Regions from separate parts of the Homo sapiens genome. Here all the other regions are linked to region 3. Evidence: promoter capture Hi-C in 16 types of primary human blood cells and fetal thymus (Javierre and others, 2016). All regions are on one chromosome and are shown on one strand. Each heading gives the region's core, a stretch centred on a gene start or on the middle of the fragment in contact. The rest is flanking DNA. Distances are from core to core; before and after follow the strand shown. Region 1 overlaps CR1 (complement C3b/C4b receptor 1 (Knops blood group)). Region 2 overlaps CR1 (complement C3b/C4b receptor 1 (Knops blood group)). Region 3 holds the start of IL20 (interleukin 20).

Region 1 (2,700 bases), core at 140-2,639, 650 kb before region 3:
GAAAAATGTTTAAAGAATTTGTTGTCAGAAGCTCTACAATACAAAAATGCCAAAGAGACTTTTTCAGGCTGAAGGAAAATAGTTTCATATAGAATTGACAGAATTGCAATAAGAAGGAAACACACCAGAAAGAGCTCATATGCGGGTATGTTTTCATTTAGGATCTTTATGATAGAGAAAACCTCTTCAGTCATTACAAGAAACACAAGATGGCAGTAAAGATTTTATTACGGGCTGGGGGTATGGCACGCCTGAAGATCACACAGAGGTTGGTCAGCGCGAGGAGACAGACAGAGAGAAGGGGACCCATCAGCCAATGCCTTTATTGGGGACCAGAGTATGACCCAGCATCTTGCATCTACAAGCCAAGGTATCTCCCATGGGGAGTTCTAATTGGTGAGTTTAAAGAAAGCAGGCACATGTTCCAGGCAGTCGTGCTGCGACTGAGAGGTGGTCACGGCAGCATATCTGCGAAGTCCATGCAGGGCACAGAGGTCAGGGACGCTAGTCAAGTAGGTTTTATCTAGCTGTCCCATAGAGAGGTGGTCACCAGGAGGCAGTTGTATAAGGCAGATATCTGGCTCGACCACGTTGCAAAATTGGGAGGAGGTACAGAACTAGAAAGGGCATTAAGGGTGACTAAGCCCTGCTTCTGGCATGAGAAAGCTAAACATATTCTAAATGGATGCTGAGGCAACATAAAAATTCTAAGAATTCACTAAGGTGTAAATATAAATAAATACTGTTTTTATAAAGACAACAGTGTCTTTGAAATATAGAATATATGTAAATCGTTAAATCAAGTTTAGCCTAAAGCCTTACGTAGTTTAAGCTCAGCCTAAAGGTTTCTCTGTAAACTGCAAACTATAACAAGTGAAGATGTAAACAGACCGCAGACTACTCTTACGCCAATCACCGAGTTTTGGCCAATCAAATGTGGCCAACTGTTTGAACTGTTTTCAAATAAGGCAAACGCTGAGCTATAACCAATCGGCTGTTTCTGTACCTCACTTCTGTTTTCTGTACGTCAGTTTCCTTTTTCTGTCGGTAAATCCTCTTCCCCCATTGCAGCTGGGCTGGAGTCTCTGCGCTTACTTTGGCTCGGGAGGCTGCCTGATTTGCGAATCGTTCATTGCTCAATTAAACTCTTTTAAATTTAATTCAGCTGAAGCTTTTCTTTTTGCAAAACGTATGGCAACAATACAAAAAGAGGGGGAGGACATAAATGGAATTAACTATTAATAGTTTCGGTACTTGCGTTGTTTGGAGAGTGGTAAAAGTACAATTTTAGCAGACTATAGTAAATCAAGGATGTCTATCTCTAGAGTAGTCATTTAAGAATAAAAAATGGAATATAACTTAAAAGCTACTGGGGAAATAGAATAATAAAAATACTTGATGAATTAAAAAATGTGAGAAATGAGGAATAAAGGAACAAACACATGAAACAAATACCAAGACTTAGACTTTATATCAGTAACTATATTAAATTTATTTATTTTTAATTTTTATTATTAAATTTTAATGTTCCAAACACACCAATGAACAACTAAGACTGAATAAAACAACAAAACCTTACTATATGATGTTTATAAGAGACAAGCTTTAAATATAAGACAAAGAAGGGCTGAAAGTAAAAGATTTAAAACACATATAATATAAAAACAATAAAGAAAGCTTATATAGCTGTATTAATATGCAAAGTAGATTTTAAGGTAAGAAGTATTATGAGAGGTAAAGAGAGACATTTCATTATGATAAAATAGTCAATTCAGCAGAAAGAATAAACCAAAAATTTCATGCATTTAATAACATGTTTAAAATACATAAAGTAAAAATTGCTAGAACAAAGAGGAAAGACAGACAAATTCATAGTTGTAGTTGGGGATTGTAATGGGTTGAATAACCACTGTCCTCCTTAAAAAATATCTGTGTCCTGATCTCTGAAACCTGTGAATATGACCCAGTTTGGAGAGTCTTTGTAGATACAATCACGTTAATGATCTCGAGCTGTGACCATTCTGGATTGCCAGGGTGGCCTCTAAATCCATGTCCAGTGTCTTTATAGGAGACAGAAGAGCAAAGGACACACACAGAGGAGAAGGCGATGAGAAGATGGAGACAGAGAAGGAAATGATGCATCTACAAGCCAAGGAACATCAACGATTGCCAGCAGCCACTGGAAGGAAGCCTGGAGAGAGGCACAGAACAGCTTGCAGATGGAACCAATCCTATTGACATCTTAACTGGATTTCTGGCCTCCAAACTGTTAAGAGAGTAAATTTCTCTTCTTTGAAGCCACTAAGTTTGTGGTAATTTGTTACAGCAGCCCTGGGAAACTAATACAGATATTTTACACATGCTTCTCCATAACTGAGAGAACAAGTGGAGGGGGAAAAAAAGACTGTTCTAAACCACATTTTCCTAAATGACATTTCTAGAAAATGAAGCAAAATAACTGTACATTCAAGTGCATATGTAACATTTTACCAAAATCGTCCATATTCTGGGCAATAAACCATGTCTCAAATGATTAAATTAATGAAAGAATGATAACTAGAAGATCTCTAAATATTTAGAAATTAAGCAATGCCCTTCTAAACAGCCTATGGGTCAGAGGAGATATTAAAAGTGAAATTAGAAAGCTTTTATGTACAATGATAATAAAAATATAAAGATTGTTGGAAATAAATAAAACAG
Region 2 (2,700 bases), core at 130-2,629, 630 kb before region 3:
TAAAGGAAATAACTCAGGTGGTTTTCTCTTACTACAGATTGATTTGACTTTCTAAAATTTCATATAACCTAAATCACTTCATTTATATCCTATTGTATAAAGGAAATCACTCAGGTTTTTTTTTATGGTTTAGCCTTCACACAGCATAATTAGAGATCCATCTAGGTTGCTGCATGTATACAAATTGTTTCCTTTAGTTGCTGGGTAATATTCAATTGCATAAATATATCTTAATTTAGTTTATCCATTTACTTGTTGAGGGACATTTGGATTGTTTCCACGTGTTGGCTATTACAAACAAAACTGCTATGAAAATTCATGTACAAGTCTTTGTGTGGACATATGATTTCATTTCTCTTGGGTAAAAACCTAAGAGTAAAATGTTGAGTGTGTGTCTAAGGTTTTAAGAATCTGTTGAACTATTTTCTAAAGTTAATGTTATAATTTTACCTGCCAAATAGCAGTATATTATAATTCCAGTTACTCCACCTTATCGCCAACACTTGGCTCGGTCAATCTTTTTCATTTTAGTCATTCTAGTGGGTATGTATTGTTATCTCATTTCGGGTTTTGTCTTGTATGACTCAGCCCACTTTCACATTCTCCTGGTTCAGATATTCCATTCAAAGCAAGTTGATGTATTCTGTGCTATATGCACAATTAACACATCATCACTTTCATGTCTGTTGCAATATGAGCTGTCAACCCAAAGAACACTCTGCTTTCCATTCTGCATACTTACCCTTTAAGGAATAGATTTGCACTTGCTTTGCTTAGGCACCTCTATCAGTTTAAAAAAAGAGCATGCCCTTTCAAATATATAAATTTATAAATTATATATGTACACGAACATAAATTATATGCCTCAATATAAATTTTTGAAATGTAACACAGATAAAATAAATATTTTAAATGCTTTGTTAATCATCATGACTTAGCACAATCATTAGCTAACATCTAACGGGACAAAAAACAGTCACATTGAGTCTCTCTGTTCACAATAGTGAATGTAAAGCTTATTTCGACAGTCTTCATGATACTTTCTAGGTTTTTTGGTTTCATCGAGTTGTGATCAGTTGTGATTAGACTGACAGCATTTCTTCTACTTAATGCCTCTGACAAAAAATGTGTATACATGTGTCTTTGCGGAGAGGGTGAGAGGGATTGTCAACTCTACCATTTTCTTGTTTTCTGGAGTTGGTTTTATTACTGGGATCTTCACCCAGCATTTCTGTGTAGGACACTTTTGATGTTACCTGTCCAAATGTGAAGCTTATTTTAGATTAAAATAGATAATATAAATCACACATCCACTCATCTGAGCATATGTAAACCAAAATACACCACAAAGCACAGAAAGCAAATTGGAACTTCCCTTCTATCTTGCACCTTTACCTAGCAGGGATAACCAAACCAGATCCTATATGAGGACCACGTGAGGGCGCCAGAGTCCACCCTATATTAAACACTGCCTGGTAAAGCTTAATTCGTGTACTATTTTATGGCTCAGAATGTGGTCTATCCCCATGAATGTAAGCGGGAGAATATGTGCTCTGCTGTTGTGGATGAAGTCATCTATATATGTCAATTATACCCAAGTGGATTGATGGTGCTGTTGAATTCAAGTATGTCCTTACGGATTTTCTGCCTGCTGAATCTGCCCATTTCTGATAAGGAGACTTCAGCACCTTTTCTGATATCAGAAAGATATCATAGAAGTCTCCAACTATGATAGTAAATCCATCTATTTCTCCTTGCAGTTCTATGGGTTTTGCCTCACGTATTTTGTCTCTCCATCAGGTGCATACATATGGGATATTGTTACGTCTTCTTGGATAATTGGCCCCTTTATCATTATATGATGCCCCTCTTTATCCCTAATAATTTTTCTTGGTCTGAAGTCTGCTGTGTTTGAAATTAACACAGCTATTCCTGCTTTCTGTGACTAGCATTAGCATGGTATATCTTTATCCATTTACTTTTCATATATATTGTCTATATTTAAAACGGTCTTGTTGTACACAGTATATAGTTGGGTCTTGTTTCTTGATCCACTCTGATGATCTGTTTCAAATGGTGCATTTCGATCATTGACACTCAAAATGATTGTTGATATAGTTGCTTTAGTTTTGTTACTGGTTTTTATTTGTTGCTTTTTTTCTCTTGTTCTCTGTTTCTATTTTTTGTCTTCCATTCTTTTCCTGCCCTTTATTGTTTTTTGTTTTGTTTGTTTGTTTCTTTTTTTTTTTTTTTTGATTTGGAGTTGCGCTCTGTCACCCAGGCTGGAGTGCAATGGCACGATCTCGACTCACTGCAACCTCCGCCTCCCAGGTTCAAGCGATTCTCATGCCTCAGCCTCCCGAGTAGCTGGGACTACAGGCACCCACCATCATGCCCTGGTAATTTTTGTGTTTTTGTAGAGACAGGGTTTCACTATGTTGGCCAGGCTGGTCTTGAACTCCTGACTTGAGGTGATCCACCCACCTCAGCCTCCCAAAGTGCTGGGATTATGGGCATGAGCCACTGTCCCCAGCCATCTTTATTGTTTTAACTGAGCATTTTATATGATGCAATTCTCTCTTACTTATTAACATATAAATTATAGTTCTTTTTTTCACATTTTTCAGGGGTTGTCCTACATTTGCAATATCTATTTGCAGCTAATCTAAGTCCTCTTTCAAATAGCACTATACCACTTTA
Region 3 (2,700 bases), core at 150-2,649:
CCTAGGTCCTATTCAGACTATATTCTGAGGTCAAGCTCAATGGTCTACTAATTGACTGCCTAGACAGAGGACGCACTAATATACTGTAGGATACCTCACCTACAGAAAAAGTATAATTTCAAAGACAACAGAGTTATCATTAATATCAAATAGTTAGCATCTTATAGTTCTTTAGACTTTGCAAAGTACTTTTTGCCTAGAGCATATACCGAAAAGTCAATAAAACTGAGTTCTTATTACCTAGTCACATGTCTCAACACAGATTATTAGAACTTTTGGACTCAGTTTCTCCATCCATTAAATGGAGGTAGGAAAGAGAGTTTAGTTGCTAAGCCATTGAAGCTGTGTGCTGAGATGCATCCTGTCACCCAAGACCCACACTCACACAGAGCCGGAGGTCCTTCTTGATGGTAAGAAAGGAATTGGCGAGGCTGCTGATCTTCCGGAGAGTATAATGGTCAGGGGTCTGGTAGTTTTTAAATACCCTGTCCAGATAGAGTCTTAGCAAATGGCGCAGGAGGCAGCATCGATTCGCAGGCTGCAAAAAACCACAGGTATATTGGTGAGGGGAAAGGGGAGAGCAGAGACAAGACCAGGGTGATGGAGATGCTCCCACTCCACTCCTCCTCCCAGAGTTTGTCTGGGCCAAGCACATACCTTTGTGTCTTGCAAAGACTCAGTCCTCCTTAAGATTCTGATGTCAATGTTTCCATCTTTGGCTTGCTAAACAGAAGAAGACAAAACAAGCAAGGATGAGTCAGTGCCTGCTGCCAGGGTCTTCAATATCAAGACTTCTCATCCACTCCCTGCCAAGAACTAGTGGGAGGTGTCCTTTCCCAAAACATTTTAAATATTTGAACTACAGTTATTTCTTTGGAATACATCCCCCGGGTAAGGAATCCCCAGCCTGCCTCTTTTTATGATTACACTGCCAGTACTGCCAGGAAAGAGAAACGGACAAGGAAGGAAGAGAAAAGGCTTTCAGGAGAGGTAGATACCCGCTTACGTACCACACTGCCCCGTATCTCAGAAAATCCATTTCGTATTTCCTGAAGGTTTGTGGCGATCACACAGCTTCCCAAATTGAGTGTCTTCAGTCCAGTGGAAGGAGTCCATAGGAGATAAAACGCAGCAGAGAGAAGGCTGAAGGCAAGACTAGAGGCTTTCATCTTAGGCCTGAAATCTGGAGACCACAGGAGCTAGGAATTCAAAGAAGAGAGCATGACTTACTGAGTTTCCCCTCCTCCAAGTGTCCACGGGGTGAGGGGTGGGGGGTCAGGGGAAGAGAACAGCCTTATCTGGCCTCAGACAGTGTGGCCCATCCACGCAACTTACTAAGAAAAACTGCCAAGCCTCCCGTGAAGAGAAGATTTCAGGTCTGAGTTCAGAGTCTGAGTGCGAGTTGGTGGCACAGGTCGTGGCTCCTTTATTCTGTCCCCATCCTGGCTCCGCCGTTAGTGCCCAGCAGGTAAGGCCTGGAACAGCAGGCACTTGCAGTGAATAGATAGAGAATGACATTTCAGGGGAAATGTCAAAACTTGTTTTGGGGAATTGACGCATATAGCCTCCCCTTCCAGAAAGCCAACGTAGCTCACCCTTCTGGTCCCCTCAGACCCACAGGGGAACTGGGGAGAAATCGAATCTCACAGAAGCTGTGGCTGCGCCATCGAAAACACCTAGGGGGAAATTGTCTGGATTTTATGGCCACCCACAGGGCAGAGAAACTGAGCTCTGTTTGGCATTTGTCTGAGATCAGATAGGTTATTTGAGGGTAACAGATTCGCTTAAGCCCCAGAGGCAAATAGAAAGTCAATGATTTCATAACAAGCCTACTGCCAGGGAAAGGCAAGACGTGATGGGCAATCAGCCCGATTCCACCTAACACTCGTGTCTGGGACTCCACAGCGCCCTCTGCAGGAGGACTGTAGTCAGGCACTCCTGGGTGGATTCGAGAGTACACGCTTTCCTGGACCTGCAACTCAGGTCCTAGACCAAGCAAATGGTCCCAAAAGTCAGAGAAGAAAGGCAATGACGGAACTCATTTATTCTTGGGCGAGCCTCCTCAGTAAGAGAGCAGGTTAGGGTGTTTGCTGAGTTTTAAGATAAAATAATAATGGGCTGAGGTTAGGGTAAAACAATTGAGGCACTCATTTTAGGTGCAAAATTTAAGGGAGCACTAAAAAACCTCAGTCATCAAGATAAAAATATTTTAGTGCAATATCAAAATGAATTAAAAAGCTTATGACAAACAAAATATCAAAATTTTATATAAAGACAAAATTCGACAGTGCCATGCTGAGCCATATTGAAGCAAAAGGAAAAATTTGTACCACTATTCACATGTTTTCATGTTTCATTCTTAATGGTTAACTTTGTTTCTCAAAAGCATATGATGAAAATATTATTGATGAGTTTCCTTCCCTTAAAACCAGGACAGTAAAATTATAATAAATTTTGTTTGGGGCAGAAATAAAATATTTAAACTTAAAGTCATGAGTCGTAATAAACCTACTTTTTAATTTTTCAATTTTCTCAAATACTTTAATATTTTTGAAAGAAATAAATACATAAAATTTATAAAGACATATATATATACACACACATCATATATATATATGCACACATCCATATATATATGGCTGGCTCCATAGCTTGGCACAGCACTGATAATCATTATCACTTACTGAATTTTTCCTATAT

What was found. The method cuts DNA at HindIII sites, captures the fragments that hold promoters and counts their contacts. A CHiCAGO score of 5 or more calls a contact.
Region 1: a fragment that was not itself captured here is called in contact with the fragment with the promoter of IL20 in region 3 in 1 of 17 cell types (endothelial precursors); the score reaches 5.6 in endothelial precursors.
Region 2: a contact is called between a fragment that was not itself captured here and the fragment with the promoter of IL20 in region 3, in 7 of 17 cell types (endothelial precursors, fetal thymus, naive CD8 T cells and 4 more). The highest score is 10.0, in endothelial precursors.

Annotation. Positions count from the first base shown.
Region 1 is chr1:207,518,113-207,520,812 of GRCh38, reverse strand. All of the region lies in intron 4 of CR1 (complement C3b/C4b receptor 1 (Knops blood group)), which reads right to left. Among named protein-coding and RNA genes, the nearest start is that of CR1, 23 kb to the right of the region's middle. The HindIII fragment of the contact is 432 bases long and covers 1,174-1,605 here.
Region 2 is chr1:207,498,432-207,501,131 of GRCh38, reverse strand. The region is part of intron 1 of CR1 (complement C3b/C4b receptor 1 (Knops blood group)); the gene reads right to left. Among named protein-coding and RNA genes, the nearest start is that of CR1, 3.6 kb to the right of the region's middle. RefSeq lists an enhancer at 1,513-1,572. The HindIII fragment of the contact is 209 bases long and covers 1,275-1,483 here.
Region 3 is chr1:206,864,322-206,867,021 of GRCh38, reverse strand. It overlaps IL20 (interleukin 20), which reads right to left and starts at 1,399. Exons shown (of 6, transcript NM_018724.4): 1 at 1,336-1,399; 2 at 1,011-1,199; 3 at 658-723; 4 at 386-538. The coding sequence starts at 1,169. The HindIII fragment of the contact is 6,531 bases long and covers 1-2,240 here.